Linked DNA regions of Homo sapiens: regions 1, 3, 4, 5, 6 and 7 are each linked to region 2. The links are contacts of gene promoters, found by promoter capture Hi-C in blood cells and fetal thymus (Javierre and others, 2016). All regions are on one chromosome and are shown on one strand. The core of a region is centred on a gene start or on the middle of the fragment in contact, and the rest is flanking DNA. Distances in the headings are between cores, read along the strand shown.

Region 1 (3,691 bases), core at 25-2,524, 770 kb after region 2:
TAATGTGTACAATTATTGTGTATTCATAAAAGTTAAAAATAAACTTTTTTTCAAAGAATATACTATTAGATATATTGACAAGCATTAAATGGGGAAGACATTTTGAAATAAGACACAATAGCCAGATGTCAAGATGTCATAAAGAAAAAACTGGGTAAATTTTATTACATAAAATATTAAAACCTTAATTTGATAAAAGACACTATAAATAACATTTTAAAACCAGTGGAAGGCTGAGAAAACATATTTGCAATGTAAAAAACAAAGAATTAATAAATTAATATACAAAGAGCAACCACAAATTTTTTAATGGCATAGACTTTGATTGAATATAGGTGAAGGGTAATAGAGAAAATTCAAGGTCTGACAAACATATGAAAAGATCATCAACCTCATGAGTAATCAGGAAAATGCAAATGAGATCACCATTGTTGATATGATCCCCCCACCCCCAACCCCTCACTGGCAGAAGTAAAAGTTTGTTAATACACAGTTCACCAACAATGCAGGGTAATGGCTAGCGTCATATGCTAGCCATGTGGGGGACAATACAGATGTAGCCTCTTTGAAGGGTGTTTGTCCTACAGAAATATTCACATGTGTACACAGTTGTATGTACAGTATGTGTAATTTAAGAAAAGGGAAAATGTAAATAACTGAAATCTCTGACCATAAGGGATGGAACAGAGTGCATGCTGGGGACTTGATGGAATAGAAGAGCGCTGGGACCTCAGAGGGCCTTCTATAAGGACATAGACTTTTTTCTTAACTCTTTATTTTGAGAAAACATTGTAAGAATACAGCAAAGGACTCCCATATACTCTTTAGAAGCTGATCAGTTGTTAGCATTTTGCCACGTTTGCTTCATTTCTCCATCAATCTCTTTCAGCAAACATTTTTTAAAACATATTTGAGAGTTAGTTGCATACATCATGACCCTTAATCTCCAAATACTTTTTATCAATCTCCTAAATACAAGGGCATACTCTTATATAATAATGGTATGATTATCAAACTCAGGAAATTGAACGTTGACAAGCTACTACCGTCTAATACATTCAAATTTCACTAAATGCCCCAACAATGCCCTTCATAGGACCCCTCTCTCCTTTCGTTCTGATCCAGGATTGCATTTAATTGTCATGTGTCTTTTGTTTCCCTGTTTCCTTTAAGCTAGAACCATTCCTCAGCCTTTGTCTTTCATAACATTAATATTTTTTAATAGTACAGGTAAGTTTTTTTGTAGGCTTTCCCTCAATTCCTGCTTGTATAAAAATTCCCTCACAATTAAATTCATTTGCATTTTTGGCAATAATGTTACATAAATACTGTGACCTCAGTGCATACTTTAGGAGACCCCAGATGTCATTCTATTAATATCTCGTTGGTGGTGGTGTAAACTTTTGATCACTCATTTAAAATGGTTTCCCCTGCATAGGTACATTTGCTGCTTTGCAACTAATAAATCATTTATGAGGGATATTTTGAGACTGTGTGAATATTCAGTTTCCCCAGTAAACTTTGATTCTGTGGTTCCAAGGACTTTGGATTTTAAATGAGTGGAAGCCACTGGAGGGTAATAGTGTGATTCTGATGTTTTAAAGAAATTACACATGAGTCTGGCAGGATCTAAACCAAATGACTAACAGTGGATTTCTACATTGTTTAGATATTTTATCAAAAAAAAGTACATCCTTGAATTGTCTGTGTAATTTTTAAAAGGCATTTTAAACACACACACACACACACACACACACACACACACACACACAAGGTCTGGAATCAGATAGACACAGATGCAGCCCCACAACCCTTATTACTATGTAAATGGAGTGATTTTCTTAAACTCTCTGAAATTCAAGTTCCTTATCTGTAAACTGGGGATAATATTAATATTTATGAATTAAATAAGAAAATATTTTTTAATGTAGCCCATAAAGCATCACTAAATCCTTTTTTATTTTAAGTTTATTCATCTCATAAGTTTCCAAATGCACTCTTTACACTGGCTTCTTTTCATTAAATACGCTGGTTATTTTTTGCTGCTTAAAAATCCCATCTTCTGTCAATCCAGCTTACTTCCATCCTCCATTCAGAAGCAAACTCCTTGGAAGGCCTCCCTGTTTGCCCTGTTTTTACTTCCTCACTTCTAATTCCATTCCAGCCCTCCTCCACTCCCAGAGCAGAGCCTTTCCTAAGAGCCAGTCAACATTTTTATAACTTCAGTGACCCTTTGTCAGTCTCTTAACCATTTCTTGAAAAAGCATTTCTTTTCTCGTGGCTTCTGCTATCTTTGTCTATTTTTTTTTCTCCCAGTTCTCTGGCTGGTCCTTCCTTGTCAGATCCTTTTTCTCTTTGGCCCTTAAATGTCAGTTTTCCTCTGCCTTTGAGTGTGGGGTTAAGCAAAGATTGTATCTAGAACATTTCCATGGTGTTTCAGAAAGACTGCCTGATATGATTTGGATCTGTGTCCCCACCCAAATCTCATGTTCGATTGTAAACCCCAATGTTAGAGGTGGGGCCTGGTGGGAGGTGACTGGAACATGGGGATGGTTTCCCATACTTTAACACCATCCCCCTTGGTGCTGTCATTGTGATAGTGAGTTCTCATGAGATCTGGTTGTTTGAAAGTGTATGGCACCTCCCCTGTCTCTTCCTCCTGCTCCGGCCTTGTGAAGTGCTGTGTACCCCTTTGCCTTCTGCCATGAGTAAAAGCTCCTTGAGGCTCCCAAGAAGCAGATGCTGATGCTGTGCTTCCTGTACAGCCTGCAGAACTGTGAGCCAATTAAACCTCTTTTCTTTATAGATTACCCAGTAATCTATCTCAGGTATTTCTGTATAGGGGTGCAAGAACAGACTAATACACTGCTATTAACATTATCCATGTTGTACCTCAACATTCATTATACAGAGGTTCATCCACACTGCAAATTTCTGATGGAGCTTAGAGCTTTAAAACTTTGCCTCTCCTGACCAACTACTATGAAGTCATGTTGTCCATCACTTTCCCTCTCTGCTTTTGCTGTCAAACATTCAAAATAATGTTTTCTGCTAAAATCAGAGGGCTTTCTCATGCTAGGATTTCTAGGATAGTCATCTTCTCAATCTCTCCAACCACTTTACATTCTTACATGTTTTATATATTTTCTCTTTGTTTTCAATCTTGTTGAAATGTCTTTCTCAGTAAAAGATCCACTTATTCTATTATTAGCATCTATGGAAAGGTTTTGAAAGTAGAGGGAGTAGTTGTATACCATGTTTAGACTTAAGAGGTGTTTTTTTCCCCTTATAATAAATAAATTTCCATATAGGTTTTGATAAATATGCAAAATTTTATTGAAAGAGATGTAACAGATATAATATCCAAATACTGTATATAGCATTTCTTCAGTTCCTTTTTCTAATAATCTGACTACAAAAGAATAAATTTTTCAGATAACTTGGGAAAACTAAGTATGGACTGGATATTAGATGATAACAAGGACACATGGATATTTTGTTAGGTGCAATAATATTGTTGTGATTATATTTTTAAATATCCTCATAGTAGAGGGGCATGCTGAATTCTGTATAAGGAAACTGACTTACTATCTGTCCTTTGATTTTAAAATCTTTAGTAGAGAGAGAGAGAGAGACAGACAGAAGGGCAGAAGAGGAAGGAAAGGAAGAAGAAAGAGGAGGGTAATGAGGA
Region 2 (3,711 bases), core at 1,202-3,701:
AAATGTATATTTTCACTAGATGCGAAAAGTTTTTTAAATAAGATGTTCAATTTTTATGGAAAATGTTAAAAAGATCATTCGTGAACCTTAAGAAAATTAGTTTCTTTGCATCAAAATAAAAGAAACAACTGTCCGGTAATCTGCATCCAACAAATATATGTAGTTTAAGGTGAAAAATTCCTATCAAAGGAAAAAAACTAAATTTTTCACTCAGTTTTTAACCAATAAAGAACAGTGACAAATATATAAAAGTCTTGTTAATTTCAACCAGCAGAAACATAATTTTGCGAAAACAGCCTCTTCAGTTTTACTTTTAATATACATTTGAGAACCACACGAAAATCCTTTCTGAGAGGAAAAAAAACTATTAAAAACCAACTTTTTTTCTAAACTCTCGTCCTAACGTTTCGTAGCTATTTCCGTGGTTCTCTGGCTAAAAGTATATTTTTTCGTAAAGTCGAGAATTATAGTTTAGCGTTCAACATTCAAACCCCCCAGGCCCGCTTCCTTCCAGCCAATCAGGGGGTAACAAGTCCAGAGTTTAGGGAGCTCCGTTAGACACAATTTGAAAAACATCACATTGCACTCTTCTATTCTCCTCCGGGAAACATTCTAAGCGAGGGCGGGTCCCCCAGTCTTCATAGAATATAAGAAATAAATCAATCGTTACATCAATTCCACGGGGAAAAACTCTGTAGGCAGGCAGTCCTAAAGAAGCGTGTCACCGCGGTTCCCAGGAAGCGTTATTCCTCTTTGCGAACAACTGAACAGAATAGCTGCTGCAGAAAGCATCTCCGGAATATTTGCAACCCAGAGCCGTGCGCCCCACACGCAATACACCGGCAAAGGGTTAATCTAGTGGTGCCTCCAGCGCGGAAAAGAACTCAAGATCTAATACATCCTTAACGCGGGATTTTTACAAAGGCCATAGAAGTATTACCTAAAGTTAATGCCGTCACTGGCTCACATCACTCAAGAGCTGTGGAGTAAGAATTGATAGAAACCACCAGCTAAGGGGGAAAAAAAAAATCACCGAAGGGAAAGACAAATAACAACTCTCGTCCCTCCTCCTCAGCGTCAAGAAAAGGTGGGGATCGCAAAATTACCGTTAAGTTGTCCGGGTAAAGACTTTTGGGGGAGGAAAACATTAATAGTTTCACAGATTGCTTTTTTCCTTGCGACATGTTTCAAACACCGGAGAAGAAAAAAGTCTTCTAAGAAAGTGCGACTCGGAGGAAATAGCCACGAGAAGGAAATCGTTAGCTCGAAGCCCCATCTTTCATCTCACCCGTGAACACTCCTCCCCTTTGAGAAAGGACAACGCTGCGAGAGCAAATGACAAAAATCCCCAGAAAGAAGCTAAAGTCCAGCATCTTTCCTAAGAGCCCGCTACAACCTCAAAAGCCTGCCCCTGCCCCATCTTGGAAGCGCGAGCCGCGGCCAGTCCTACCTACCTAGAGACCTCACCGGGACCCAGCGCGCCGGGGGAGGGCAGCCAGGGCTTGGGAAACTCTTTCCTGGGGCACCTCACGCTTCAGCGTCAAAAGACAATATAGATAGATGGGTGCCGGGCGGTGGCGGGGGGGACTGTTGCCACGACCCACCGGAGGGACCCATGACTCCGGGTCCTGAATTTTCTGTCGACCTTAAGTTTCTTGTCACGAGATGACGGCCATCACCGGGTCGAGAAAACGGCGAGAAAAGGCGGCCCGGTTCGGAAATGGGGGAGGGGCGCGCGTCCAGTCCTCCTGTCAAGGAGCGGCCGCCTGCAGAGACCCCGCAGTGCGCCGTCCCCGGCTCCGGTCCCGGGCGGGGGGTCTTGCTGACAGATCCGCTGGGCGGCGGCTGCTCCGCCGCAGCCGGTCCGCGTCCCGCTCAAACTGCAGCTCCCCTCCCCCCACAGCCCCGTCTCTCCGCGCTCCCGCCACATTCCGCCCGCCGCCGCCCACTCGCAGACGCCCAAGTTGCCCCTAACCCTACTTCCTCGGATTTTTCGCGATTAAGTGAGAGTAGACCCCGCGCCCACTCCCTGCACCCACCACTGCCTGCGGGTCCCACCACTGCCACCTCCCGAGTCCCGCTCTGCTACTTCTTCAGGCTCTTACCGACTGCGCCAGCCTTGGCGAAGCTCCGCCGACTGCCCTTTGCTCCAAGTAATTTTTGGCGATTTTTAAAGTAATTTTTCCGGCGGAGTCATAGTGGCGCTATACTCTCGGACAGGTTATCCTGTCTCTCCCGCTAGATTGATGAGATCAGGCATCACTCGAAAATGGCGCCGAAAGCGCTGAGGCTCCTCATTCAAATTCGTTAGAGCCAACCCCGCCGCCCCAGGGAATGCCGGGAACGCGGGCTGCCTCCACAGCTGTCAATACCGCCTCTTAACCCCCCTTCTCTTGCTTTCCCGACATTTTTACGCATGCGCAAACTCCAACCCTCCCCCCTCCTCCCGCCAGGCACATGCGCAGAATCATCGTGGTGCACGGCTCTCCCTTTGCTTCTTCGGTTGCAGTCCTCTTGCTTCTTGCGCGTGCGTGTAGCGCTTTTGCAAAGCCGCGGAGGTGAAGTGAACTTAGAGGTTGTGGGGCCGAGGGGTCGTCTTATAGCTACCAGCCCACAGGCATTTAGTCTACGTTGGAGGTAAACAAATACGGGTCCTGCTTAGGAGAAAAGAAAAACGTCTTACAGCCAGTGTCTAAACTCCAAACAACGGAATGTATCAATGAGACCTTGTATATGGATACACGTGCATTTAAAACCGCCCTGCCGGCTTGTAGAGCTTTTGCCGTTCTCCAGCGCTTTACAGGGGTTATCGCACTTAAGCCTCGGAACAACTTTACCAGGTAGGAACTATTACTGTTCTCGTTTTGAAGACCAGGAAACCTAGGCTCAGAGACGTTAAGTAATTTGCCCAAGACAGCACAGGTGGCACAGAAGTGGATGAATCCACATCTGTCAGATTCAGCAGCCCTGGAGTTCTCTACCACGCTGTACGATTCAACCTGAGCCCACACAGGAGGCGTGGTCTCCTTCTTCAACGGTGTGTGTGTGTGTGCGCGCGCGCCTGCCTAGAGTTAATGATTAAGTTTGCTGAAGCCCTTCTTCCCGGTCCTAAGCTGCCTGTTGCGAAGGCGCTTTCATTGAATTCAGTTTCTCTTACCGTCTTAACTTGTTCATAAACTTTTTGAGATAGGAATGGGCAGTTTTTCTGTGTCACTTAGGATGATTTTTTTTTTTAATGGCGTGATAAGTGAACTGAATCCAGCAAAGACGAGTTTCTGTTGTGCAACACGTTGGTATACTGACAGCTACCACGTATTGACTGTGTACTGTGTGCTGGGCACTGTGCTAAATAAATGATTTACGAATTAATCGTGTTTATTGCTCACAACAGCCTTATGAAGTAGGTATTATCTTCACTTTACAGATGAGGACACCTGAGGTTCAGATTAAGAAATCTGCCCCAAAGTCTTAGAACTGGTAAGTAGAAGCACCATATCTAGGCAAACCTGTCTACCTTCAAAAAAAATGGGCACTCTGATAGGACAATTAACGATAATAAAGTTGTAATTTTTTTTTTTTTTTGAGACGGAGCCTCGCTCTGTCGCCAGGCTGGAGTGCAGTGGCGCGATCTCGGCTCACTGCAGCCTCCGCCTCCCGGGTTCAAGCAATTCTCCTGCCTCAGCCTCCCGAGTAGCTGGGACTACAGGCAAG
Region 3 (3,489 bases), core at 426-2,925, 900 kb after region 2:
TTCAAAGGCTTTCCATTGTTAACAAGCAGACCAGAGGCAACTAATCACTGAATGGAAACTGATAATTTTGCTGCTCATTTATTTTCCCAGTTAATGCTTTTCTTTTTTTTTTTTTTTTTTTTTTTTGAGACGGAGTCTCGCTCTGTCGCCCAGGTCGGACTGCGGACTGCAGTGGCGCAATCTCGGCTCACTGCAAGCTCCGCTTCCCGGGTTCACGCCATTCTCCTGCCTCAGCCTCCCGAGTAGCTGGGACTACAGGCGCCCGCCACCGCGCCCGGCTAATTTTTTGTATTTTTAGTAGAGACGGGGTTTCACCTTGTTAGCCAGGATGGTCTCGATCTCCTGACCTCATGATCCACCCGCCTCGGCCTCCCAAAGTGCTGGGATTACAGGCGTGAGCCACCGCGCCCGGCCCCCAGTTAATGCTTTTCAACACAACCCTTTATATTTCCGAAGAATAAAGACTTGTAAAAGAGATGGGGGAGTTATGGCTGCAGAAAACTGGCCCTTACTTTGCTCTGCTGACAGTTTTATAAGGCCAAGGAAGTTCAAAAAGTAAAAAGACTTTCTAAGCAATTCCACAGAAATTCTAAGCATTTTCAGGAAACCCATTTTTAACTTTAAAAAAATATTAATACAAGATTAGTTGCAGTGATTTAATTAGTAAACCATGACAGATGGTTAACATGCAGCATTTTTTTTTTAATGTGAACAAAATCACCAGTTTTTTTTTCAGTTTGTTTTTTCTTATTAATCTTGGGTAAAGATTCCTTGGGTCTTCAAAGATAACTACTCAGTCTACTTTTTAAATGGATAGTTTGTCTGAATAATTTTGTTAAAGCTTTAGTAAATGAATGTTGGGAGTGTAATTTCCAGAGTACAGGCTGAATGCAATGACCCCTAACACAGCCCAGATCTGGTCACCATGGACTGATGGCAGAGAGGATCCAGATATTTTGGTTGGATTCATGATTAGAGACTAAATCAGTATGATGCCTATGAAAAGGTCTGGTTTTTAAATATTTGCCATGGAGCTAGAGTAGAAGGCAGGGTGACAGAGGCAGCGGTGGCTGGAGTGTAACCAGCCCATGAATCTCAGGCAGGACAGGCTTGCATGCTTCTGTATATTTCTCTAGGAGAGAACACTGGGCTTCAAGGCTAGTCTGTTCTGTCTTCAGGCTCTAGGAATCTTCTTGTCAAACCCCTTCATTGGAAAAATGGGGCCTAGAAAGATTAGATGACTTTCCCAAGTGATAAGCTAAGAAAATACCCCGAATGCTTTAAATCCACCTTGAGGCTTCAATGTCTATGTGCTCTATAAAGTGAATCCCATATTGTTTTTCTTTAAAAGATTTTCAGAAATAGCTGCCTTTTACCCTTTACTCACACTAAAGTTTTGAAATACTAATGTTTCTGATTTGAAGATGGAGGTGGGAAGTTCATCCTCTATCCCCACCTCCCACCCCCAATCTCTTCTTTGAAATCATCCAAAGCAAAAGGAAAATAAGAAATGGAAACCAAAAAATCAATTTTCAGCAAAACTAGGAGGTATTTTAAACTATGAACAACAAATAGATGGAAGGACTGCAAAAAGCAGGGGAGCTTCCAGGAGAAAGAGGAAGGAAGAGTTCATGGCTGTGGAAATGAGACTGAGTCAGCAAAAATACATTTGTAAACAGAGAGGGCAGAGGTGAGGAATAAAGTCTAAGTCACATGTTTATGACAGAAGGAACCAGTATACACACCAGAACAGCAAGAACTCTCCAAGACCCAATTTAGTTGTGAAATGAAGAGGTGATGGAGTTAAAAAAAAAAAAATCACACATCCACATCACATTTGCAGGAACTATCTATCTCAGTGGCAGAGGGAAAGAAGAGAGACGTTGCTTTTTAAAAATCCCCATAGCTACCTGTCTTTATTGATCAGGGAGAAATAGAACTAAAACTTGCATGCAAAACCCTGGTTTATAAAGAAAATTCCTACTAGGCTGGGATGAGGCCCTGTAAATATTTGGCCCAAGGAAAACTCTTGTGCCTCAAAGATGAGAAACCAAAAAGAACAAACCCAAGTTATTTCAAAGATATGAAACATAAAACAAGAAAAAAAAAGACCAGAAAAAGTAAATGGCAGATAAAGTGTTGCCAAAGAGCAGATAAAAATAGTAAAAAGCATTTTACTACAAACATAAAATACTTAAACAATTACCTCTATGAAGTTTGGGCACAAAGTAGAGAGGGAAGAATCATGGAAGTCACAGAAAGACAAGTGATGTTGTTTGAGCTGGCGCACTACAGGGTAGGCATGGGGGAAAATGTAAACCATCAAAGAAACAAAGATGTGTTTGAAGGAAGATAGACAATAATAATAGCACAAGAGCTCAGAGGTTAAAAATAAGAAAACCAAGCAAAATGAAATTGATTTGGGTACAGGAAAGATTTATTAAACAGGACAAAAAGGTGAGCAAAATACTGATTTTTTAAAACCTGGTGATTGTAGAGTTCAAAAAAACAAGCTTACTTGTAAATATTAATGCAAAAATATTAAATAAAATATTACCAAATAGACTCAAACAATTCATTAAAAGAATAATACAATGTGACAAATTGGGGTTTATTCATAATATAAAGATGGTTCAATATTAAGAAGTCTTACCATATTAGTTATCTAAGAAAGAAATAAGGTATTATTAATCTCCTTAGATACTTAAAAGATACTTGGTAGCACTTCTTCTTGTCGCCATGTGAAGAAGGATGTGTTTGCTTCCCCTTCCATCATGATTGTAAGTTTCCTGAGGCCTCCCTAGCCCTGTGGAACTGTGAGTCAATTAAACCCCTTCCTATATTAAAAAAAAAAAAAAGATACCTAGTAAAATTCAACTGCCATTATTGATCTCAAAATAATTCAGTGAAATAGGAATAGATGTGTACTTCCCTAATTTATACAAAATAAAAGTCAACATTATGTTTAGTGGAGAAATATCAGTAGTGTTACCATTAAAGTCAGGAGTATGATAAGAATGTTTTAAACAAATAAGAGAGAGAAAATAGACATATACAAATTGAAAAGAAGTAAAATTATCATTACTTGCAGATCTTATATTTGCATAACCCAAGAGAATCATCTGAAAAAGATTATAAAAATTATAATTCAGTAAGGTAGCTTAATGTAAAATCAATATATAAATATCAAAAGCTTTTATACATTTAAGCAACTGCCGGATAGATGTCATGGAAGAAAAGACCCTTTTACACTTTCAAGAACATCAAAAAAGCTAAAATAACCAGAAATAAATCTAAGAAATATTCCATATGTATATCAGGAAACTTTAATCCTGAAAGACAACAAAGCACAGAGAAGGAATTAGAGGGGCTTCTCGCTTAGACCAGGTGACCAGGCAATGTGGCATTAGGAAGGCATATTGACTTCATCAATAAGATTTAGGACTTCTACTTATTCTGTAAGAACGCTTACAGACTTCATCTGTAGAG
Region 4 (3,018 bases), core at 1-2,500, 1.0 Mb after region 2:
AGCTTAAAAGGGAATTGGGCTGGGTCTGTTAGGACTAGAACATCTTGTGATGCTGTATGGTTGGCTAGATAATGGCTTCCCAAAGATGTTTCCATCCTAATCCCCAGAACCTGTGAATGTCATTTTATATGGCAAAAGATATTTTGCAGATTTGATTAAATTAAGGATTTGGAGATGGAGAGATTGCTCAGGTGAGAGTGATGTAATCACAAAGATCCTTATAAATGGGCCGGGCACGTAGGCTCACACCTGTAATCCCAGCACTTTGGGAGGCCAAGGTGGGCAGATCACCTGAGGTCAGGAGTTCGAGACCAGCCTGACCAACATGGGGAAACCCCGTCTCTACTAAAAATACAAAATTAGCCAGGCATGGTGGCACATGCCTGTAATCCCAGCTACTCAGGAGGCTGAGGCAAGAGAATCACTTGAACCCAGGAGGCAGAGGCTGCGGTGAGCCAAGATCGTGCCCATTGCACTCCAGCCTGGGCAACAAGAGCAAAACTCTGTCTCAAAAAAAAAAAAAAAAATCCTTATAAATGGGAAGCAGGAGCACAGACTGAGCAGGTGGAGACATGATGATGGAATCAATAGGTTGGAGTGATGCAAGGATGGGGTCACCAGCCAAGGAATGCAGGAAGCCCCTGAAAGCTGAAAAAAGCAAGGAAATGGATTCTCCTCTAAAGCTTCCAGAAGGAACACAGCCCTGCCAACATCTTGACCTAACCTGGTGAAACTGATTTTGGTTCTTCTGACTTCCAGACTGTAAAAGCATAAATATATATTGTTTTAAGCCTTTAAGTCTGTGGTAATTTATTACAGCAGCAACAGGAAACTCATTCTCTCTGCAAAGGCGAACAGTGGTGAGAGGAACACAGTGTCCTGTTAGAGACACTTTGGGCTCTGTGTCTGAGAATGGGCACCAGGAAGGTCGGTCTTGGCAGCAATGCTCTCAGTTGCATGGCACATGGCTGGGTACACACGATTCAAATCAAACTAGCAGCTCCATGCATCTTGCCCCATGAAGCAGAAGACAGTCTGTAGCGGGAGCTAGAAACCAGGTGCTAAAAAACAAGCCAGATGCCACGGATGCACATCCTCTCTTTTTGACATTCTGTCTAGGGATAGGTAGATTTTCATGTATCAAAACTGAGAATCCTGGGAAAGCCAGAGATCTAACATAGCCTCAGTGATCAGCTTGATTCCATTGAATAACTGGCCAATCCAAGGAAGAAAAGAATCTGTCAACTCAACTGGGTTTTCTGAATTGACTTTTATTGTTTCAGATTTCATTTATCTCAAACCCCACCAGACACCATCTCAAGATTCCCCAGGCAGAGCACAGATCCTTGGGTTTATCACCAACTTCAAACACCTAAAAATGATCCCCAAAGACAAGACAACCTTCTGTTTCCCAATCATGGAATTTTTCAGGCTGTGTATAGTCTCATGAAAGACAAAAAACATACAAAACAAAGCAAAATAAGACGGCACAGCTTCATGTGCCATAAGCAATAAATGCTTTTTAAAAAATCAGGACTCCAAACATCCTCGCAGTCATGTTTATTTTTTCTTATCTTTAAAAACAAAATGTACACAGTATCTTCACCACATAATTTCAGGGTGGATCTATGATAAACTGTAGTTTGATAAGAGGCAGAGTAAAGACACCTTTATCCTGAGTTTATCCCCAACAATGAACTTTTATAGATGAGGCTTCAAACAAGGCCACATTTAGGGAAAATAAAAGATCTGTGGTGATAAATGGCAGTGCTTTAATGCAGTTTATAAAACAAATCTCCTAAACATTTACTTTCCAGTCAAGCTTCTGGCTATAGCTGGGTTAGTACAAGCAACAAAATGAAAGAAACTTTCCAAACATTGACATTGGCACTCGAAAAATAATAAAGAGAGGTATTAAAACATTTCTAGTATGGTTTCATTCTGAAAACATGTTGAGATAAAATTTCTAAGAATGCAATATAATTACTAGCTGTTTTTTATTTGTAAGAGTTACATATTCTTAGATTCATATGATCAGGTTCACATAAACAAAAGGTTCTTCCTAAAAAATGGAACAATAAGAATATCATCCCACAGGCATGGCAGAAAGGAAGCCTCTGTTCAGTTCTTAGCCTGACCTTAGCCTAGAACATCCTTGGCTTAATTCAAATGATTGTGGTTTTCTTTGTTTTGTTTTGTTTTCTGTTTTTTGTCTCTCTCCCTTCCTTCTGCCCAAAGACCCTTATACATGCACAGACTGGTTTACAAGAAAATGCCAAAAAAAGAAGTGAGAATAGATAAATTTCAGTATATTCTCCAAACCAGTGGTTCTCAAGCTTGAATGGGTACAACTATTGCAAAAATGTAAAAAGTATTTAGAAATACAAAGAATATATTTTAAATGTAATTCTGATTCAGATAGTTCCTAAAATACAGAAATCCTTTCTATACCAAAAGAACGTAATGATTCTGATTGTTCTCTTAACTGGGGAAAGGGAAAGGTGTGGCCTGTCATAAACTGGTTCCATGGATATTTAAAAAGATTTTTCTGGGTAAGAATTAGAAGAAAAAGAAAAGAATCACCCCATCTCCCTTCTTCTCTTGTCAATTGCCTATGTGAAGGGGAGCTGAGTTTTGGGGCCTGAGGAAACAGTGTGGCCCCCAGGCAGGCTCGTGACATACCCCTTCCCTCACCCCATTGCCAGGGCATTAGCCTCATCTTAGCTTAATGCAGCAGGAGTTTCTGGAAAACTCTGAAAAGAGAGCAAAAGGAGCTGCTTTCTCAACTGCATTCTGCACACAAGACGGCAACCTCAGTGCAGATCCAGCATGTCTCTGAGCCTCATAGAAAGAGGAGCTACCTCTTTGAAGCTTTGGCCCAGAAATCTACAGGTGAGTTCATTTCTGGTACTGAGCACATTGCTAGCAGCCACCTGGACAGACACGTGGAGAATGAGGACCAGGCCAGGTGAGGTCAGGGGAGTGAGCCCAGACACTCCACTCAAGACCTTCCATTCC
Region 5 (3,446 bases), core at 487-2,986, 850 kb after region 2:
TAGAGTAGTCAAATATTTAAGATATTGATTGATCATGGAAGACTATAGATTTAAGGTAGAAATCTAAAGACAGTAAGACTTGGGAAAAATCTGTGCATTATTCTTACTATTTGAAGGAAAAAGAACATTTAAATTGAGATAGTTCATGGCACTAGTTAACCTAAGAGAAAGTATGGCAAGCTATCACGTGTTCTTAAATGATTGAGAAGATTTTACCCTTAAAACCCAAGAAAGCTGCATTTGCAGAAATTGATCAGATGCAGTTTTTGTGTCTTCAGGAGGAGTTGTCAGTACACGAGAGGTAGAGCGAGCTAGAAGTGGGTCATGGGCAAGGCCATACATCTGGTACAGTCTGGTGTCCCCAAATCAGGGGGCTAATACCTTAATTTAGACAAACTTCACCTCTACTTGCTACTAGTACAGTTACGAAAAACTAGACCTAATTCCAAAGAATGATGTTGTGAATCCATATGGTCTGCACTTCTGGCCCACTGGCAACCAGGCCATATAAACTTCTGTGGCTGAGCCTGATTTAGCCTGTCTGCAGCTTCCCATGACTTCTCCCTCTGGCTGTCTTTTCTTTTATTCTGGTCTAAATTTGGAAGCATTGTGAGGCAGCTTTGACAGGGGTAGATTCACTTTTGTATTTTCTTTTTGTGGCGGGTGCTTCTTTCATCATCCCTAGAGTGATGATGGGGAGGCAGATGTATGTCTGGGCCTGGTCTGGGCTTGTTCCAATGTGACAGTCAGGACTCTTGCTCTGTGACCACAGCTGGTTCTTCAAATTGAATGGGTTGGACCATCCCCAGGCAGTCTCCACCATCTTTGCAAGCTTCTGTGGCTTCCAGTGCTTTTGTAGATTGATTTTCTTCCCCATTTCATTTGGGGACTGTACACCCAAGGTAGATGGTGTGCTGTGTGGGACTCCAGTGCTCACAGGAGCTTCCTGAAGGGAGCTGGGGTCCGTCCTAGAGCCTGTCCCATTGTAGGGATTCCTTAGATGGAATAGGTGGCTTCTGCACTAAGTTTAAAGGCCCAGCCATGAGTTAATGTGTCTTTTTCTCTTTTTTTCTGAATGTCTTTGTTGAATGAAATGCTTGCTTTCCAACTAACTGTTTTTTCAGGGGAAGTTTCAGCCCCTTGATCAAGTTGTGGTGGATAACGTGTTTCCAAATTGCATCTTGTTGCTGAAACTTCCTGGACTTGAGAAGTTACTTCATCATGTGACAGAGGAAAAAGGTATGGTATAACTTAAAGGCTTATGGCTGGTAGAAAGGATGGACCTTGCCTAAGAACGTGGCTGCTTACAGACACACTGAATGTAAGGCTTATTCTGTGTCCACCATAGGGAAAACTATCATTCAGATTTGCTAACACTGCCAGCACTGTTCCTCTATTGCTTTGGAGTGTTTAGTCTTTGGAACTACAACCATGGCAGTCTAGGGCCTACGTCCACAGGGCAGGAATCACAAGGTGTGGCTTCAGTCTCACTTCTTCTTTGAACTAGTTCTGTGACATCAGGCAAGTCACTCAGCTGCCTTCTGCCTCAGATGTCTCATTGTAAAATTACGTAAAACCTGTACCTTAATAGATGGAAGCATTTATCGAGCACCTTCCAAAAAGCATATGTTGCACATTAGTGCTAAGCTCTAGATACTTATGAATAAGACATTGTCCTTTTCTTCACTTTGCGCCCAGTCTGATGGGGGTCAATGACAAGCTGAGCAGTGACCGCACAGTGTAACGGAAGTGAACTCTGAATTTACTGGGGATGCACAGGACAGGTTTCTAATCTGGCGGGGTTGGGTGGGGAATGTAGGTGGGTAGATGTTGTGTTGCTTTCCTGGGGGAAATGACCTCTTTATGGAGTCCTGAAGGATAGTCAGAGAAGCAGTGTAACAGAGGCTCAGATGTATGGAAAAGTTTGTCAGGTTCAGGAAGTTCCAAGGAGTTCAAAGTATAGGATTCTGGGGAAGGATGTAGGTTGGTAAGGAATGAGGCGGGAATGCTGGGCATGGGTCCAGATGGTAAAGGGCCCTGTGTGTGTTTGGACTTTGCTTAATGGTAGTGGAGTGTCTGTGAAGTTTTAAGCATGGCAGTCTGCAGTGTGGAGAGTATATTGGAGAAGCCAGGTCCACCAAGGCTGTTGCAGTGATCCAGACAGGAGATAATGGTGGCCTTGATCTTAGGAGATAGAACAAGAAGAAAGTAGCCATTTAGAGATGGACCCAACTGCATCTGGTTGTTGGGTGGTGGTCAAGGAGAAGGAGGAGTCAAGAGTGACTTCTCGGTTTGTGCCTGACCCAAAGGATGTGTAGTGGTGGGATCCTGGACACAGGGAACATGGGCTGGAGGAGCAGGATAGGGTAATGAAGAGATGCGTTTTCACTATCATTCATTTAATTTTTCAGAGGGAAAAGTAAGGCAGTGTGTGTGAATGTGTTTTGACAGGTTAGAAATAGTATAAAAACTTGGCTTTGGTGTCTTAAAAAATCATCCAAGTAGTTTCAGGGTTAATATGGAAACAAAGTGTGGGAACCAGAGCATCAGGCTGATAAGTTGTGGCTGTTTGGGTCATAGATGGTTTGGCCAACTATGACAGTTCTTCTGGGACCAAGAAAGTGGTGATTCCAAGAAGTGTAAGCTTACAGTGGGAAAGAGAAGAACCTTATTGATTGCATTTTATGTTTAAGGGGTCCAGTAAATTCATACTTGGCCACACTTGGAGCTCCAGTTTGGAACTGAGGGGTATATGGTGCCAGGGTTTTATCAAAGCAGTTCCATTAAAGACATTCCCTGATGCTGAGTTTGGCAGAAGACAGCAGTCTTTTTGTGGGTGACCTGAATTAGCCCATAACCACTTTTAAAAGATAAAGTAATGAAGAATAATTTAATTAAGCCATGTTAATTTTTGTCAACTTAATGCAAGCTGAAAATGCAGTTAACTCATTGTCCAGAATTCTGCTATTAGCTGTATAAGAACAATCATCTTAAAACCCAGAAATCCAGATTTAGAAACAATGTTAGTGCCTCAGCATTTGTTTCCTTACAGTCTGCAGCCGAGAGCAAGAGGCTCTCTCTGTGTCATCCCTTCCCTCTTGTACACCGAACTCCTGACCATTTATTGCATCATTATCTGAACTTGTCTTAGTCTCCTTTGCTTCTCAATATTGCCTAACTTTTGGAAGTTCTGTACTTCCATTTTCAAAGTAGCTATATTATTAGCCTTTATATTTGCCAGATTTCAAAAACCCTAGGCCTCAATTTTTTTCTTTATTTTTAAGTGATGGGCAAAACATAAAATACTTTAGAATAAATTTCACACAGTAAAAGATGTATTCAATCTCTAGAGGTTTGGCAGTTTCTTTTTATCAAATTCTTCCCTTAATAAGCTGCAGCCTGTGAATCTCAAAATAATGGAAGTTTTAAAAACAGAAAGAAAAAGA
Region 6 (3,412 bases), core at 316-2,815, 800 kb after region 2:
CCCTGTGATTGGAGACAGGGCCCATCTGATCTCTGTGTAGTTGGGCTGGGTCTGAGCTTTGTCACAGCTTATTGTGATTCAGTTCATGGCTGGTTTTAATATCTGAAAAGTAGAATCAGTACTTTTCTCTCAGTGTATCTTGGAATCCTAGAGACAGTAAGACTCTGGAAAGTTCTCCAAGCTTCACACAGCCCAGCCCCCAACTTTCCAAACTGTGGGAGTTCTCTTTATGCCTTACAGCCCAGCCACCAACTTCTTGGGTTGCTGGGGCCTTTTCTTTGCCTAAACTCTGCCTCCACATCTCAGAGCCTTAAGATAGCTCTTCCTCCAGCATTCAATAGGTGGCTACAATGTACTCAGTAGAGACCTTGTGTAGGGAGGGTGGAGGTAGGGGTGAGGTGGGTGGGTAGGGTTGAGGGGATTGGAGAGTTGAAAGGGTTTTCGGGAGCATCTATTTCTCTCAGTTCTCCTGCTTTGCCTCTGGCTACTGCAGGCTGCTGCCTTGCATTTGGTGAAAGCCTCGTGCTTTCTAGGAGGGGATTTCTTTCAGCTTTCCTGCCTTACCCCCAGTGTGTAATGGGGACTGCCTTGCAATGGATGAACCTCACATGCCTTGGAGAATCCCTCTTGCTTCTCCTGCCTTGCTTCCTGTGCTCAGTGGGCTACTTTCTTGTACTTTGGGAAGACCTGGTGTACCTGGGGAGGGTATTTCTCAGTTCTCCTACCCTGGCACCAGCTTTCAGTGTACGACTCCCATCCACTCAATGGAGGCTGGGTGGGTACAGACTAGTTCTATTCCTGGGGTACCTTGTGATTCTACTCTGTTATGCCAACCCATATACAATCATCCAAAATTTGTTTAAAGATAGGCTGGTTTCTCCCTTCCTCTTCTGTGCTCCTTCCAACATGTCCCTAGGAACAAAAGCAGCTGTGGGACTCTTCTCTCTAGGAAGAGCTTGATCCTTTTGGAAATGTAGTTAATTTGAGGGATTTTTTTCTTTTTTTTTTTTTTTTTTTTGGCTCCTGGGTTCTCTGATGAGTGTGAAACATGCAAATGAAAGCAACAACAAATAAAACTGTCATTTGTAGTGCTTCTGGTCTGTTCTCATGGTTAGAGTAAGAGTGATAGACTCCTGCAAATTTCTGCATCTTATAAAAGAGTGGAGGCTTGTCCCCTCATTGGGTTTTGTACATTGTCTTTGGGCTGTAGGTTGTACCTGTCACTAAGGTACCTTAAATAAACATACACACACATTTCGTTTTTTAAAAATGGCTAAGTCAAGCCTCTAAGTTCAACATCCAAACTCCATGTGAAGGAGTTTCAACTTTCTTTGGTTTTCAAAAATCCCCTCTAAGATCTTCCATATTTGTGATGGAATTTACATAAAACATTTATTCAAAAAAAAGTTATTGAATACCTAGTATGCACTAAGGGCTGTTTCAGGACCTGGAGATGCAAGATAACAGTGCCATGGAGCTAACGTTCTAGTGGACTTCTGGAAAAACTAAGGGATCGTGACTTAGCTGTGACTGCAAGTCACATATGCAAGTTCACCACAGTTGACCTTTTGAAACAGTCATTTCAGGAGTTAAATTATAAGGAAAATTCATTCCAGACCTCTGCTGAAATAAACAATGCTTCTAAATTCTATAGAGATGTGTAGCCAGTGGGGAGCTGTCTGACTACATCAGTTTACAGACTTCTTTCAGCAAAATCAGAGATCCACATGGAAAACCAAGTATTCAGGAGCCTCTATGTATATTACAGCATGCCCTGGGGCCTCAAGCAGTCTCCTTTATGTGTAATTTTTTCATCTGTGACAGATTTAATGTGGATAATAATGCTTACTTAATAAGCAATCCAGTATAATTTAACAGAAGTTACTAATGTAAGTTCAAATGAGTTTTCATTTACAATTTTAAGAACACCATGTGTATGACAGGAAAACAGTGGGTGAAGAGCTGATCTAAAAAGCAAAAATGGTAACATCCTGAATTATGCCATAGAATCCATTTATTTTGATTAACCAGCTGAGACTATGAAAGGTGGAAAATGCATTTCATGGTAGATATACTTTAGGTATAATACTAAGAACTTAAACCAAAGGATTGTACCATTCACCTGACATATCATAAGACATGAAATCATGTTTACTTACATACTTTTAGTTTATCCATTAAAAAAAGAGTCAGCAAACTTTCTCTAAAGGTCCAGGTTGTAAATAGTTTAGGCTTTGCAGACTATAGTTTCTGTTGCAACTACTCTATTGTAGCATGAAAGCAGTCAGAGACAATAAGTAAATAAATGGGCAAGGCTGTGTTCCAATAAAACTTTATTTACAAAATCAGGCAGTAAACCAGATTTGGCCTGTGCACTGTAGTTTATCAACCCCTAGACCATCCTGGCTAACATGGTGAAACCCCATCTCTACTAAAAATACAAAAATTAGCCAGGTGTGGTGGTGGGCACCCATAGTCCCAGCTACTCGGGAGGCTGAGGCAGAAGAATCACTTGAACCCGGGAGGCAGAGGTTGCAGTGAGCCGAGATCACACCACTGCACTCCAGCCTGGCGACAGAGTGAGACTCTGTCTCAAAAAGTAACTAACTAACTAACTAAATAATAATAATAAAAATAAAATGTCATATTGGCATTGTAATTACACTCTCCAGAAGAAATTACAGGTTATGTACAAAATGTATTGCTCCATGACTGGCTACAGGCAGAATGGGTGGCTGTCTGTGTGTTATGACTCTATTAAAATATTACTGTATTATGGAAGTATTTCTAGACCTGTATGATGGAATTTTTTAGTGTGTATGATATCAATACATAATAACCCTGTGCCTGAGGGTGATTAGGGAGATAGATTCTCAATAGACTCTGATGTAGTAGGTTTCTTCTGAATGGGGAAGAATTGATTAGATTAAGATCACTTTAAAGCTGTAGTCAAGCTTGTCCAACCCATGGCCTGCAGGCTGCATGCAGCCCAGGATGGCTTTGGATGTGGCCCAACACAAATTCATAAACTTTCTTAAAACATGAGATTTTTTTGCGATTTTTTTTTTTTAGCTCATCAGCTATCAGTAGTGTTAGTGTATTTTATATGTGGTGCAAGAAAATTATTCTTCTTCCAGTGTAGCCCAGGGAAGCTGAAAGATTGGACACCCCTGATGTAGATGCTTTCAACACCATTCATTCATTCAACCAGCACAGATGTTGTTCACATCATGTTGGGAACTGGGGGTATAAAGAGAAATAGAAAATAGTGTATTTCCCCAGTGGCTCACAGTCTAGTGACAGAAAATGATGAAAACAAATAATTAGAGAAATGTAATAAATTCCGTAGTAAAAGCATGAACAAGGCACGCTGGTGTATTGCAAGGGAAGCTCTTAACTTTGCCTGCAGATA
Region 7 (3,507 bases), core at 955-3,454, 820 kb after region 2:
AATACCTCAGAGGAAACTGACCATATCTGGATCACTGGTGATAGAACCTAATTAGGTGAAGCCAATGGCAGTCTTCCATCCCCTGAGATTAGTACAGGGATGGGCACCATAATCCGAGATGAAATAAGCAGAATAAAAACAAGGACTCATATTTCATGTTACATTGTATACCAGGAAGTATATATCCCCCATGGCCACTGGCAGCCATATTGCGAGCACAAGGAGAACCAGTCTTAGGATGAAACTAATGCTGCCCTACCTTTGAAATCCAGTTATGTAGATAAATGTTCTTATTGCATACACAAGCTTGAGTCAGGTATTTTGATTCCTCGTAGGTGAAACTACTTAATTAATTTAAGTGGTCTTATGAGTAATTTGTACTCCAATGTCTCTGAAATTTTCCTAGAATTTAACTACTAATCCCAGGGACTGGGCCAGAAGAAGCTCTAAGTAGTAAACAATATAACTCAATGTTGTCCTCTTTTTCCAGTGCTAGAGCACTGTGGTTGACCCAAGGGTGTGAGCTTCTTTTAGTGGGTTATTCTCCCAAGATAATTCTATCATTATGCAACTAGACTTTTCCTACCCACCTGAAAAATAGGCCCTGTTATACCCTACGATGTCAAGCTAGGCTCATGCTGGAACTCCCAAAACATGAACAAATGTAGTTTTATAAAGTTTGAGCTGAAAAAATGTTGTGTTTTTTTTTTTTTCTTTTAGTTTATTCAGCTTAATCCCCTCTTTTTAGGTAAACCTACAATGGGGAAATGACTTGACTAAGAAAGCAATAGACTAGACCTAGAGATAGGACAGAGCCCAAGGCTTCAGTTCTGTGCTCGACCTGCTGTCCTGGTACACTGAGGCTGAAAACTCATTTCCAGCACCCCTTCTCAATGGCACATGAACATTATATAAACACTGTATAGTTAAGTCGTCTGAATTTTTCATTTTTGCCATATTAGCTGTTATTACTGTTATTGGTGTTTTCTGAGAAATAACTAGCTCACAGTGCTTAGATGCAGTGAAAATCTAAAGGACAAACCATTTGGAAAAGAGTTTAAAGCTCCAAGTTAAGGTTCAGCATCAGTTGTCCTACTGATGTTGAGGTTATCTGATTATACTTAGGCTTCTTAAGCATGTTCTAAAATAATCAAGTAATCAGTTAACAAAACACCCTATATTTTAATATAAAAAAGCACAAATAGCAAGATGAACTTTTATTTTATAAAGAATCCATATTAAATGCTTAATTATGAACGTTGCTGCTAAAGAAGTCTTTGAAATGTCATTTTCAATATATCCTTGACCTACTTAAGAACAGACACTTGTTTCTTTTCTCCATCCTCAAATTTAGAAATCTCTGGCTGATTTTTAAAGCATTTTGTAGATCACATCAAGTTAAAAAGCTTCTGCACAGCAAAGAAAACAATCAACAGAATGAAGAGAAAACCCACAGAAATATTTGCAAACTACCCAACTGACAAGGAATTCATAACCAGGAAATGTAAGGCGCTCAAACAACTTTACAGGAAAAAAATCTAATAACCCAATTTAAAAATAGACAAAAGATCTGAATAGACATTTCTCCAAAGAAGACATGCAAATGGCAAACAGGTGTATGAAAAGGTGCTCAACATCATGATCATTAGAGACATGCAAATCAAAACTACAATGAAATATCATTTCACCCCAGTTAAAGTGGCTTTTATCCAAAACACAGGCAATAACAAATGCTGGCGAGGATGTGCAGAAAAGAGAACACTTACACACTGTTGGTGGGAATGTAAATTAGTACAACCACTGTGGAGAACAGCTTGGAGGTTCCTAAAAAAAGCTGTAAATAAAGCTGCCATATGATCCAGCAATCTCACTGCTGAGTATAGACCCAAAAGAAAGGAAACCAGTATATCAAAGAGATATCTGCACTCCCATATTTATTGCAACACAATTCACAATAGCCAGGATTTGGAAGCAACCTAAGTGTCCATAGACAGATGAATAGATAAAGAAAACGTGGTACATGCACACAATGGAGCATTATTCAACCATAAAAAAGAATGAGATCCTGTCATTTGCAACAACATGGATGGAACCAGAGGTCATTATGTTAAGTGAAATAAGCCAGACACAGAAAGACCAACTTTGCATGTTCTCACTTATTTGTGGGAGCTAAAAATTAAAATCATTGAACTCATGGAGATAGAGAGTAGAAGGATGGCTACTAGAGGCTGTGAAGAGTAGTGGTGGAGGTGGCAGGGAGTGGTGATGGTTAATGGGTACAAAAAAAATGGTTGGAAAGAATGAATAAAACCTAGTATTTTGACAGCACAACAGCATGACTATAGTCAATAATGATTTTATTGTACATTTAAAAACAACTGAAAGAGGATGATTGGATTGTTTGTAGCACAAAGGATAAATGCTTGAGGTGATAGATACTCCATTTACTTTGATGTGATTATTACACATTGCATGCCTGTATCAAAATACCCCATAAATATATACACTTATGTACCCACGAAAATTAAAAATTTAAAAATAAATAAATAAAAAGCAATCCGTGACCACCAATTATTCAGCTATTTCACTTCATCACCTCCTGTATTCTCTGAAACATCTGCACTATAGCCAGAAACTTCCATTTAACAACATGCTATGGTATTCGGGAGTATTCCTCCCTCAGGTTTCAGCCTATGTTTACCCTATACCTGAAATGCCCTCTCAACCAACTCTTCCATGACAGTTCAAGTTCCATTCATCCTATGGGGCTCTTTATAAATGCCTTCTCATTCATGATGAGTCCAGCCCATACTGATTGTCCTTACCTTTTCTTGCTTTCACAACTGTGCTACCGATTGTTGTGTTATGGTTTTTTTTTAATATTTCATGTGTGGATTTTTTCAAATTTGATTGTAAGCTGTTAAAGAATAAGCAATGATGTTTTTCTTTCTTACATGCATTCTACAGAGCATCTTGCACATATGGAAGTTGAAAGCTCCTCTACAAGCTTACTGATTGATGGATAGAAATAACTAGAGTACAAGTGAAGTGGTGCCCTCTTTGCCTTCCTCCCCTCTCCAGGGCCTTCACTGCCACTGTCCTGTTAGAGTACCATTAACTTCCAATGTTAGAACAGGCTCTTGATGGCTGAGGACCAAGTTTTGTTTGTTTGTTTTTGTTCTCTTCCACTGCGTTCTTTCTGCCTTGCTGTAGATTCTGAGTAGATCAGTTAAGATCTTCACGCCTATAGAAATGGCAGACAGAATCTCAAATTTTAAAGGACAACTAGGATGTTGATAATCTCTTCTGGTTCCAAGTAGGGTAGAGCATAAGCTGTTTCAGCAAAGTTCTTGTTCTCAAAATCCCCAGGCAATCTTAGGTGTCTTGCAGAGATATGAAGTTATTTCTAATATCTAATCTAAATCTCTGTCTGCCACTCAAGTCTCTTCCCTTTATCACAACCCTAAGTGAAAACAGGAACTAGGGCTTTCTTTGCTGAAAACCGTG

The links. Contacts are between HindIII fragments. The CHiCAGO score rates a contact against its expected background, and 5 or more counts as called.
Region 1: a contact is called between a fragment that was not itself captured here and the fragment with the promoter of DLEU1 in region 2, in 1 of 17 cell types (fetal thymus). The highest score is 6.2, in fetal thymus.
Region 3: a fragment that was not itself captured here is called in contact with the fragment with the promoter of DLEU1 in region 2 in 1 of 17 cell types (monocytes); the score reaches 5.9 in monocytes.
Region 4: a contact is called between a fragment that was not itself captured here and the fragment with the promoter of DLEU1 in region 2, in 1 of 17 cell types (fetal thymus). The highest score is 6.6, in fetal thymus.
Region 5: a contact is called between a fragment that was not itself captured here and the fragment with the promoter of DLEU1 in region 2, in 3 of 17 cell types (fetal thymus, monocytes and non-activated CD4 T cells). The highest score is 7.4, in fetal thymus.
Region 6: a fragment that was not itself captured here is called in contact with the fragment with the promoter of DLEU1 in region 2 in 1 of 17 cell types (naive B cells); the score reaches 5.4 in naive B cells.
Region 7: a fragment that was not itself captured here is called in contact with the fragment with the promoter of DLEU1 in region 2 in 9 of 17 cell types (non-activated CD4 T cells, naive CD8 T cells, total CD8 T cells and 6 more); the score reaches 11.5 in non-activated CD4 T cells.

Annotation. Positions count from the first base shown.
Region 1 is chr13:50,851,478-50,855,168 of GRCh38, forward strand. No RefSeq gene overlaps it. Among named protein-coding and RNA genes, the nearest start is that of DLEU7, 9.6 kb to the left of the region's middle. The HindIII fragment of the contact is 5,277 bases long and covers 1-3,691 here.
Region 2 is chr13:50,079,718-50,083,428 of GRCh38, forward strand. DLEU1 (deleted in lymphocytic leukemia 1) reads left to right here and starts at 2,452. Exons shown (of 7, transcript NR_109974.1): 1 at 2,452-2,840; 2 at 3,425-3,477. The region is part of intron 1 of DLEU2 (deleted in lymphocytic leukemia 2); the gene reads right to left. RefSeq lists enhancers at 904-963, 2,581-3,376 and silencers at 1,596-1,890, 1,754-1,973, 2,374-2,423. The HindIII fragment of the contact is 5,734 bases long and covers 1-3,711 here.
Region 3 is chr13:50,977,714-50,981,202 of GRCh38, forward strand. No RefSeq gene overlaps it. Among named protein-coding and RNA genes, the nearest start is that of RNASEH2B-AS1, 69 kb to the left of the region's middle. The HindIII fragment of the contact is 1,672 bases long and covers 840-2,511 here.
Region 4 is chr13:51,080,868-51,083,885 of GRCh38, forward strand. C13orf42 (chromosome 13 open reading frame 42) reads right to left here. Exons shown (of 4, transcript NM_001351589.3): 4 at 1,252-3,018. Among named protein-coding and RNA genes, the nearest start is that of C13orf42, 29 kb to the right of the region's middle. The HindIII fragment of the contact is 1,139 bases long and covers 682-1,820 here.
Region 5 is chr13:50,933,761-50,937,206 of GRCh38, forward strand. It overlaps RNASEH2B (ribonuclease H2 subunit B), which reads left to right. Exons shown (of 11, transcript NM_024570.4): 5 at 1,125-1,239. Among named protein-coding and RNA genes, the nearest start is that of RNASEH2B-AS1, 25 kb to the left of the region's middle. The HindIII fragment of the contact is 1,812 bases long and covers 831-2,642 here.
Region 6 is chr13:50,877,256-50,880,667 of GRCh38, forward strand. No RefSeq gene overlaps it. Among named protein-coding and RNA genes, the nearest start is that of RNASEH2B, 31 kb to the right of the region's middle. The HindIII fragment of the contact is 2,773 bases long and covers 180-2,952 here.
Region 7 is chr13:50,895,060-50,898,566 of GRCh38, forward strand. The region is part of intron 1 of RNASEH2B-AS1 (RNASEH2B antisense RNA 1); the gene reads right to left. Among named protein-coding and RNA genes, the nearest start is that of RNASEH2B, 13 kb to the right of the region's middle. The HindIII fragment of the contact is 1,601 bases long and covers 1,405-3,005 here.